Regions from separate parts of the Homo sapiens genome. Here region 2 is linked to region 1. The links are contacts of gene promoters, found by promoter capture Hi-C in blood cells and fetal thymus (Javierre and others, 2016). All regions are on one chromosome and are shown on one strand. Each heading gives the region's core, a stretch centred on a gene start or on the middle of the fragment in contact. The rest is flanking DNA. Distances are from core to core; before and after follow the strand shown.

Region 1 (5,602 bases), core at 2,610-5,109:
TTATTCTTATCTCCTCTTCCTCCTCCTGCTTCATTAGTTGCATAAAGAGACTGGATTATAGGTACAGGACATCACAAGAAAAATGACATTGTACTATTCCTCATGTTTTCTGATCTCCAAAGTGAAGTAAACCACAATACCACTGACTTGTACCTTCTACCTTTCCTTGTAGTTCCCCTAGAATCAAGTAGGAGCCCCTAATGAGAGCAGGAGGGTAATGAAGGACTGTATGATGTAGTAGGAATAACACTGATCTAAGCGCAAGGTCTGCCTTACCACATATCTCTCTGTGTGACCTTGGGTAAATTACTAAACCTATCTGAACTTTGAGTCACTATCAGTAAAGTGGAAGTAATAATAAAGGAAGTAATATTATAATATAATAAAAATATAATATAATATATTTATAATATAGATAATATTTTAATAATATAATATATAATATAATATAATATATATAATACGATATATTATTAATATATTATAATTATATAATATATATATTATATAATTATAATATATTAATAATATATAATATAATATAATATATATTATATTATATTATATATAATATAATATATTATATAATATTATATATTATTATATATATAATATGTTATATAATATATTATATATATAATAATATATTATATTATATATTATATTATATATTTTATTATATAATATATTATATGATATATTATATTATATGATATATTATATGATATATTATATTATATTATATAATATATAATATAATATATCATATAATATAATATATCATATAATATATCATATAATATAATATATAATGTAATATAATATATCATATAATATATATTATATAATAATATAATATATCATATAATATATATTATATAATAATATAATATAATATAAAATATTATATAATAATATAATATAATATATAATATATATTATATAATAATATAATATAATATATAATATATAATATATAATAATATAATATAATATATAATATATATTATATAATAATATAATATAATATATAATATATATTATATAATAATATAATATAATATATAATATATATTATATAATAATATAATATATAATATATATTATATAATAATATAATATAATATATAATATATATTATATAATAATATAATATAATATATAATATATATTATGTAATAATATTAATATATAATATATATCATATAATAATATAATATATAATATAATTATATAATAATATAATATATATAATAATTATATAATACAATATATAATATATATTATATAATAATAATATAATATAATATATTCATAATATATTATATTATATTATATATTTATATACTTATTATATTATATTACTTCCTTTATTATTACTTCCACTTTACTGATAATTACTTATATATAATATATAATAATTATATAATTATTACTGATAATTACTTATATATAATATATAACATTATATTATATTATACTTATTACTGATAAGTATATATACTTATTACTAAGTATATAAACTTATTACTGATACGTATATATACTTATTGCTGATAAGTATATATACTTATTGCTGATAAGTATATATACAGTATTGAGCTTAATGTGGTCCTGAGACCCAGCCTTATAAAAGCAAATGTCTGATGCCTGTGTAATGGCACTGAAGAAAAGAAAGGTTGAATTTACTAGGTGTGTGCTCCTTTATAAGACCCATTCTAGGTCTCTTTCTGAATCCCCTTCCTCCCATCATCACAAAGAGGTTGACATTTTCCATATCTCTATCCCATTCCCCCACATGACTGGCTTCTCTCCCTTTCCTGGAATGCCTCCTGGATGGAGGATTAACTTATATAATAGATGTTTATAAAATGTTTCTGAAATGTTTAAAATGTATATAAAATGTGAATATTAGAAATTTTTTAAATTTTGATTATCTTGACATATCTCTTAGCCCCACAGGAAGAGGCTAGCAGCTTACTCTGGCCGCTACAGGGTTTTTAGCAGTGAAGCTGCAGTCCCACAGAGTTGTCCAGCTGAGAAACCCCTTTAAGACCAGTCAAGTCAACCTCCTCACTGTACAGATGGGCTAGGAACAATGAGGTCCAGGGAGAGGGAAGGTATTATTTGCAGCTCAGCATAACCTGAGCCTGAGGTCTATAGTATAAGATCCTGTGTACAAATGGAAGGCCTGCTTCCAGGTCTGGAAAAGCTCATAGGCTGGGGAAGGAACAAGACACATGAGTGCTCTCTCTCTCTCTCACACACACACACACACACACACACATGAATGCACACACACATACACACACACAAACAAAGGATTTAAATTTAACATTTCTAAAATGCTCCCTCAAGCCCCAGGCTTAAGCCCTAGCTCAAACCAACAGACTTGGAGAAGGTAGAGAGATACATTATAAAACCTGCTAGAGAATGGAAATGTGGTAGTTATAGAAAGAAAAATGTTTTTTCAGGAGCATTAACTCTGCCACTAATGCTCTTTGGCTTGGGGGCAAATTATTTTTTCTCTTGGTTGACTTAATTCAGAGTCTTTTCTAACTCTGAGGTTCCAGAGTGTGATGGGTCACAGAGCCCCAGGATAGGGTAACCTAATCAGAGTCAGCTACGGAAAGCTGGATTCTTTCTGACCTAACAAGTGACACCAAGCTAACACCTATCCAGCCTTTTTCTCTAGGGATGATAGGGAAGCAGCAAAATCCCCCTTTACCCTATATTGGATCTCACTTAGCTGTTACCCAGGTTGAGTTTCCTGAAAATCCATCTCACTTCTCAGGAGTGTAGATGAGGATAGAGCTTCCCAAGCTCCAAGGAAATAATGCCACTATGGAATAGTCCATCCTCCTTTGGGATTTGTATCCAGCCCATAAATAGCCCAGACAAATTGAGCCATGTCTATAGGGAAGTGAGTTATCCCAGGAATGGGTAAGAAACCAAGTCCTATGAAGACCAGTTGAAAAAGCTGGGGCTGTTCAGCTTGGAGGAGAGAAGAGTCAAGGAGACATAGTACTTGTCCTCAGGGCTTTGAAGGGCTATCACAGGGCAAGGAAGCATCTATGTTCTGTGTAGCCCCAAGAAGCAAAGCTGGGGTTTTTGGATGGAAGTCAGAGGGAACTGGATTTAGTTCAACACAAATAAGAACTTTCTAACAGTTGGAGCTGCTCCTGGATGGACTAGATGGTCTGGGGAGGTAGTGAACAGTGAAATCTCAATCACTACTGGATGTTTCTGAGCACTTATTCATGACAATGAAGGGTGGTATAGGTTACTTCTATAGTCCTATCCAACTCTTAGAAAACACTCCTTCTTCGGGGGCTGTATATTTTAACAGAGACCAAAGCTTGGAAGCAGAGTGGTTAAGTCCAATTGTAGAATTTTAGATGAGAGACAGCAGATGGAGGAAAGATTCGGATGTCATTGGGAACCTTCTTGATGCCCCTGAGATACAAGCCCTAGAAAATAATGCAGATGTTTTCCAAGAGAAAAATCCTTTTTCAATTTCTGCCCAAACTTGCCTTCTGGCTTCTTCAGCAGCCTTCAACTACATCCATCCGTTTTGCTCAAGGCTGAGAGAGCCTGCAGAGTTTGGCTGAGAAGACTCACCTGCCCAGTAGGAATAGGCTTTCCATAGTAGACATTAAACACCAACCCTCTAGCCTTTTGCCTAAGCCAGCAATGGCAGCCAGGCCCCCCTTTCTGCCTTACCATAAGTGTCCACTGTTAGGTGCCCCAGGAGTAGCAGGCCCAGTAAGATCCCCATCACAGCCAGAGCTACTTCTGTCCTTTCTTCCAGCCTCCTGCTACCAAAGAGGCTCAAACTTCTGGTGGCCGCCAGCGTCTGTGACTGCTTACTTCCCTTCCTTCCCTATATCTCTCACTCAAACTCCTAGTCCCATCACACATTCCCCTTCCTTCCCTATTTCAGTACAGGTCATGTGGGGTGCCCCCCTTCCCCCACCTCCTTGGGGTTGGAGGTTCCAGGATGAGTGAAGCAATTCTTCCCCCTGCTAGGGTATTGACTTGACTTTCCTTGGAGCCAATGGGGCTTTCTGGTCTTTGATCTCCTAGGCTGTATTTATTTTGAGTCTCCTCCACAAGATTCAGAGGTTGTGGGGGCGACCTTTGGGATGAGTCTTCCCACTCCAGTATGGCGGTGTTTTCCTTTGTGGTGAGCCCAGGGAGAAGAGATCAACTTTGCTGACCTACCCAATTTTCATTAGTTGTACTGTTAACCCTTGCCTGTGCAGCCTATGCAACTGGACAGGGTGTTGGGCCCGGGGTGCTTTTGGGCTTAAGAGTACAAGAGTTTAGTGTATTAAAGGGCTTTCTACACATCAAAGCTTGAATAATTGACAAGCCAATGGATAAGGCTGTTATGGGTGAATATGCCTCATATCTCATATTGGGGAAGCTCTTTGAATCACTTTCTACAATGGCTCCACCTCTCTGATGGTAAGGGAGAATTCATTTTCATTAATGTTCTCCATGCTTTTTCATAAGGAATTTATTTTTTACTTCTTTTAAGGGAAATTTAAGCCTAGCCTCCAGTGCAGCAGCCCATTAGTGGTATGCTGTATTAGGTTGAATTTTTCATTGACTTCCAATTGGTACAGGCCCTTGACCTACAAGAGAGTAATATTATGCCTCCTAGCAAAGCTCAACTGCTCCAGAAATTGCTCCTCTTCACAGGCCCCAGAGTGACTGTAATTTCATCAGCAGTCTAACTAGGTTTGGCACTGCGCTTTGTCTACTAAGCTTTGAAACAATAAGCACTTTCAAAAGCACAAATACATCCCAAAAATTCATACTGCACTGTAAGTAACAGCTAAGCTTAGTTTACTCTTTGATTGGAGGGATAGGAAAGGACTTGGTCAGGGGAGGGAGGAGTTTGTGCAGAGATGGGGAGTGGGAATATAAAGAAACATACTTGCCAAGGGGTGGCTGCATGCAGATGATTTGGAGCTGTGCACGGGCTAAGGAGACATTCCAGCATTTCAGGACACATTATTACATGGAATTCTATCAATCACCTCTGCCTCTAGGGCCCAATCCCCCTTGGCTGGTTGTTCCTTGTTTTTTGAGTACTGCACTCATTCCATCTCACTGGAAATTTCAGCCATTTTTTCCCACCGGGTCCTCACTCAGGAAACCCTGAACTTCACAGAACCCTCCTTTGATATTTTTCAACCAACACCCTATCACCACTACACCACCACCACCGCACAGACACACACACACACACACACACACACACGCACACACATACACACACACACACCCCTCCCCTTCCCCGCTAAAAAGCCCACTGGACAGATGTAAATTTCTGCCTGGCCAGGTGATTGTGTGTTTTGTGCTACCTCTTGCATTTTATTAGGACCTCCTGGATCTGAAGATAAATAAATGTCCTGGGGAGTATGCACAACATTACTTCAAGGCTGGGAAAGACTTCCAGTCTTGCAGTAGGCTCAGTAGCCCTCTTGATTAGTAAAAGAATTGGATGAGAAGTCAGAAACCTGGAGATAAGCCTGGCTCTGTGTCTACTTCATTCTGAGATCTTGAACAAGTCAAATCTCTCTGAACCTCA
Region 2 (6,064 bases), core at 662-3,161, 680 kb after region 1:
ATATGAACTTTAAAGTAGTTTTTTCCAATTCTGTGAAGAAAGTCATTGGTAGCTTGATGGGGATGGCATTGAATCTGTAAATTACCTTGGGCAGTATGGCCATTTTCACGATATTTATTCTTCCTAGCCATGAGCATGGAGTGTTCGTCCATTTGTTTGTATCCTCTTTTATTTCCTTGAGCAGTGGTTTGTAGTTCTCCTTGAAGAGGTCCTTCACATCCCTTGTAAGTTGGATTCCCAGGTATTTTATTCTCTTTGAAGCAATTGTGAATGGGAGTTCACTCATGATTTGGCTCTCTGTTTGTCTGTTGTTGGTGTATAAGAATGCTTGTGATTTTTGTACATTGATTTTGTATCCTGAGACTTTGCTGAAGTTGCTTATCAGCTTAAGGAGATTTTGGGCTGAGACAATGTGGTTTTCTAGATATACAATCATGTCATCTGCAAACAGGGACAATTTGACTTCCTCTTTTCCTAATTGAATACCCTTTATTTCCTTCTCCTGCCTAATTGCCCTGGCCAGAACTTCCAACACTATGTTGAATAGGAGTCGTGAGAGAGGGCATCCCTGTCTTGTGCCAGTTTTCAGAGGGAATGCTTCCAGTTTTTGCCCATTCAGTATGATATTGGCTGTGGGTTTGTCATAGATAGCTCTTATTATTTTGAAAAAACCACATGATTATCTCAATATATGCAGAAAAATCCTTTGACAAAATTCAACAACCCTTCATGCTAAAAACTCTCAATAAATTAGGTATTGATGGGACGTACTTCAGCTCTTTCTAGAGTACTCTCTTTACTTGGCTTTTGGGACACTGGGTATGCCTAAATTTCCTCCCATATTTCTGTCTGCTCTTTCTCAGTCTCCATTGCCAGTTCATATCCTCCTACTTCTACTGCATGTTTTAATGTTAGAAATCCTCAAGGCTCAGGCCTTGGCTCCCTTCTCTTCTGAAACTATATTATCTCCCTTGGTAATCTCATCTATGTTCCTGGTTGCAACAAGCAAGCTTAACTAAAATTAATATACCATCTATTTCAAAAAGCACCATTATTCTATGTACCTCTAAGAAAGCAAAAAATACATTCCTCCAATTGAACTATAGTATTTCATACTCCACTAATCATCTCACTGTACCCCAAACTTGCTCTTCCTTATAGTATTTCAAACTTAAAGATGGTCACCACCATTCATTTAGTTGCTCAAACTAGAAATCAGAAACCTCTCATGTCCTCTATGCTCTACCTCACCACTTCCTACCTTTCATTTATAATCAATCTCTATGTCCTATTGCTTGTACTTCCTAAATAATCCCTGTATATATCCATTTCTCTGATCTTCATTGCTATGAACCAAATTAAAGCTACAACTTTCCTTTCTTGATTTATCTCAAAAGCCTCCTTACTTGAGGTTTCCCCAATTCTCTGATATGCAGCAAATTGAGTGATCTTTCCAAAGCTCAAATTTGATCAAGTCACGCCCCTCATGAAAAACCTTCAGTAGCTTCACACTAGTCTTAGAAAGGAGTTCAAATTATTCCTGTGGCCTACATAGTCCCTGCCTTTCCTCATGTCACCTTGTCCTATGCTCCATAAGTGTTGACCACACACAGGCCTTTTTTGAACCTCAAATATGTTACCTTTCTCGCTACCTCAGGTCCTTCTGTACATGCTCTCTCCTCCGCCAGGACTCTCTTCTAATTATTTAATTAATTCCTATTTACTCCACAACATTCAACTCAAACATCACCTTTTCAGAGAAATCTTCCATGATTCCAGACTAAGTAATGTTCTATGCTACATGTTCTTATAGTGCAATAGTCTTCTAATTTCTAGAATTTAAAATTGTTAATATCTAATTAACATTAGAGAATTACAAATTAAAGCAACAATGAAATTCTACTGCACATCTATTAGAATGGCACAATACTGACAATGCCAAATGCTATTGAGAATGTAGAGCAACAGAAGCCTTCATTCATTCCTGGTGGGAATGCAAAATGACACAGCCACTGTGGAAGACAGTTTGGCAGTTTCTTACAAAACTAAACATAGTCTTATTGTATGATCCAGCAATCATACTACTAGATATTTACTGAAATGAATTAAAGATTTATGTCTACACAAAATCTGCATATGAATATTTGTTATAAATTTATTCATAATCGACAAAAGTTGGAAGCAACCAAGATATCCTTTCAATAAGTGAATGGGTAAACAAACTGATAAATCCATACAAGATAATATTATTCAACAATGAAAAGAAATGAACTATTAAGCCTCAAGAAGGCAAGGAGAAATCTTAAATGCATATCGGTAAGTGAAAGAACCTGGTCTGAAAATGCTACATGCTATATGATTCCAACTATGTGACATTCTCGATAAGACAAAACTATACTGACTGAAAATCAGTGGTCGTCATGGATAGTAGGAGGATTAAATAGGTGAAACACGGGATTTTTAGAGCAGTGAAACTGTGCTATACTATTATTGTAATAGTAGATACATGGCTTTATGTACTTGGCAAGCCTGGTAGAACTGCACAATACAAAGAATGAGCCATAATGTTAACTATGGGCTTAAGTTTAAATGATGTATCAATGTTGATTCATCAATTGTAACAAATATACCTCAATCAGGCAAGATGTTAATAATAGGGAAACCTGAGAGTGTGGGGCAAGACAATGAGTATATGGAAACTCTGTTCTTTTTGCTCAGTGTTTTGACAAACCTACAGCTCCTCTAAAAACATAAATCTAGTAGTTAAAAAATCATTTACAACTAAAAATGTAATTAATTTAGTGTATAAATCAAAGCTTAATACTGGGCTTGCTACTAGGATGAAAGCTTCATGAAAGTAGTTACTGTGGTAGGGACTGCACCTAGCATAATGCTGGGAACAAAATAGCATATCAGGTAGAATTTGTCAAATCAATAGATAAATTGAGGATTGATGGGATGTAAGAGTTAAGGGATAAGCAGGAATCAAGAATTACAGTCACGTTTTTGGCTTTGGTGACTAATTTGGTGACTAAGTTTATATCTGAGGAAAGGGGGAAATGATGAATTCAGTTTCAGAAGAAGTTTTGATGTGCCTGTGAAACATATGATAGGTATTTTGATATATAGGTCTGGTGTTGGAGAAGCAGCCTGGGCTGTGGACATAAATTTAGTAACCGTCAGCTTCAGGTCTTGGTTTAAGCTAAATAAGGGGATTAAATTAGTCAGGAAATAAGTGTAATATAAGAAGGAGAAGAGGGGTGGCTGGCAAGATGGCCGAATAGGAAGAGCTCCAATCTGCAGTTCCCAGAAAGATCAGCGCAGAAGGCGAGTGATTTCCGCATTTCCACCTGAAGTACCCAGCTCATAACATTGGAACTGGTTAGAAGGTGGGTGCAGCCCACAGAGGGTGAGTAGAAACAGGGTAAGGTGATGCCTCACCTGGGAAGTGCAAGAGGTCGGGGAACTCCCTCCCCTAGCCAAGGGAATTCGTGAAGGCCTGTGCCATGAGGAACGGTGCATTCTGGCCCAAATACTATGCGTTTCCCATGCTCTTCACAATCCACAGACCACAAGATTCCCTCAGGTGCCTACACCACCAGGGACCTGGGTTTCAACCACAAAACTGAGCAGCCATTTGGGCAGACCCTGAGCTAGTGGCAGGAGTTTTTTTCATACCCCAGTGGCGCCTGGAACAACAGCAAGACAGAACTGTTCACTCCCCTAGTAAAGGGTCTGAAGCCAGGGAGCCAAGTGGTCTAGCTCAGTGGAACCCACCCCCACGAAGCCCAGACAGCTAAGATACACTGGCTTGAAATTCTTGCTGCCAGCACAGCAGTCTGAAGTCTAAAGTTGACCTGAGATGCTTGAGCTTGGTGGGGGGAGGGGGCGTCCACCATTACTGAGGGTTGAGTAGGTGATTTCCCCCTCACAGTGTAAAAAAGCTTCCAGGAAATTCAAACTGGGCGGAGCCCACCACAGCTCAGCAAAGCCTCTGTAGCCAGACTGCCACTCTATATTCCTCTTCTCTGGGCAGGGCATCTCTGAAAGGTAGGCAGCAGCCCCTGTCAGGGGCTTATAGATGAAACTCCCATCTCCCTGGGACAGAGCACCTGTGAAAAGGGGTGGCTGTGAGTGCACCTTCAGCAAACTTAAACGTTTCTGCCTGCCAGCTCTGGAGAGAGCAGTGGATCTCAAAGCACAGTGCTCAAGCTCTGCTAAGGGACAGACTGCCTCCTCAAGTGGGTCCCTGACCCCTGTGACACCTGACTGGGAGACACCTCCCAGCAGGAGTCGACAGACACTTCATACAGGAGAGCTCCAGACGGCATTTGGTGGGTGCCCTTCTGGGACAAAGCCTCCAGAGGAAGGGATAGGCAGCAATCTTTGCTGTTCTGCAGCCTCCACTGGTGATACCCAGGCAAACAGGTTCTGGAGTGGACGTCCAGCAAACTCCAGCAGACCTGCAGCAGAGGGGCCTGACTGTTTAGAACGAAAACGAACAAATGGAAAAGATAGCATCAACATCAATGAAAAGGATGTCCACACAGAAACCCCATCCGAAGGTCATCAGCATCAAAGACCAAAGGTAGATAAATCCACGAAGATAAGGAAAAACCAGCACAAAAAGGCTGAAAATTTCAAAAATCAGAACACCTCTTCTCCTCCAAAGGATAGCAACTACTCAATAGCAAGGGAACAAAACTGGACAGAGAATAAGTTTGATGAATTGACAGAAGTAGGCTTCAGAGGTGGGTAATAACAAACTCCTCCGAGCTAAAGAATCATGTTCTAACCCAATGCAAGGAAGCTAAGAACCTTGAAAAAAGGTTAGAAGAATTGCTAACTACAGTAACCAGTTTAGAGAAAAACATAAATGACCTGATGGAGCTGAAAAACACAGCGTGAGAACTTCGTGAAGCATACAAAAGTATCATTAGCCAAACTGATTAAGCAGAAGAAAAGATATCAGAGATTGAAGATCAACTTAATGAAATAAAGCGTGACGACGAGATAAAAAAGAAAAAACAAAAACAACAACAAAAAAATGAACAAAGCCTACAAGAAATATGGGACTATGGGAAAAGACCAAACCTACGTTTGATTGGTACACTGGAAAGTGACAGGGATAATGGAATGAAGTTGGAAAACACTCTTCAGTATATTGCCCAGGAGAACATCCCCAACTTAGGAAGACAGGCCAAAATTTAAATTCAGGAAATACAGAGAACACCACAAAGATACTCCTAGAGAAGAGCAACCACAAGACACATAATCATTAGATTCGCCAAGGTCAAAATGAAGGAAAAAATGGTAAGGGCAGCCAGAGAGAAAGGTCGGGTTACCCACAAAGGGAAGCCCATCAGACTAACAACTGATCTCTCTGCAGAAACCCTACAACCCAGAAGAGAGTGGGGGCCAATATTCAACATTCTTAAAGAAAAGAATTTTCAACCCAGAATTTCATATCCTTCCAAACTAAGCTTTGTAAGTGAAAGAGAAATAAAATCCTTTACAGACAAGCAAATTCTAAGAGATTTTGTCACCACCAGGCCTGCCTTATAAGAGCTCCTGAAGGAAGCACTAAATATGGAAAGGAAAAATAGGTACCAGCCACTGCAAATACATATCAAATTGTAAAGACTATTGACACTGTGAAGAAACTGCATCAACTAACCGTCTTAATGACAGAATCAAATTCACAAATAACAATATTAACCTTAAATGTAAATGGGTTAAATGCCCCAATTAAAATACACAAATGGACAACTTGAATAAATATTCAAGACCCATCAGTGTGCTGTATTCAGGAGACCCATCTCATGTGCAAAGACACATATAGGCTCAAAATGAAGAGATGGAGGAATATTTACCAAGCAAATGGAAAGCAAAACAAAGCAAGGGTTGCAATCCTAGTCTCTGATAAAACAGACTTTAAACCAACCAAGATCAAAAACGACAAAGCAGGACATTACATAATGGTAATGGGACCAATGTCACAAGAAGAGCTAACTATCCTAAATATATATGCACCCAATACAGGAGCACCCAGATTCATAAAGCA

What was found. The method cuts DNA at HindIII sites, captures the fragments that hold promoters and counts their contacts. A CHiCAGO score of 5 or more calls a contact.
Region 2: a fragment that was not itself captured here is called in contact with the fragment with the promoter of VSIG4 in region 1 in 5 of 17 cell types (endothelial precursors, total CD4 T cells, M2 macrophages and 2 more); the score reaches 7.6 in endothelial precursors.

What each region holds. Positions count from the first base shown.
Region 1 is chrX:66,036,221-66,041,822 of GRCh38, forward strand. It overlaps VSIG4 (V-set and immunoglobulin domain containing 4), which reads right to left and starts at 3,860. Exons shown (of 8, transcript NM_007268.3): 1 at 3,724-3,860. The coding sequence starts at 3,778. The HindIII fragment of the contact is 1,000 bases long and covers 3,357-4,356 here.
Region 2 is chrX:66,715,042-66,721,105 of GRCh38, forward strand. No RefSeq gene overlaps it. Among named protein-coding and RNA genes, the nearest start is that of EDA2R, 79 kb to the left of the region's middle. RefSeq lists an enhancer at 2,698-3,897. The HindIII fragment of the contact is 1,806 bases long and covers 1,009-2,814 here.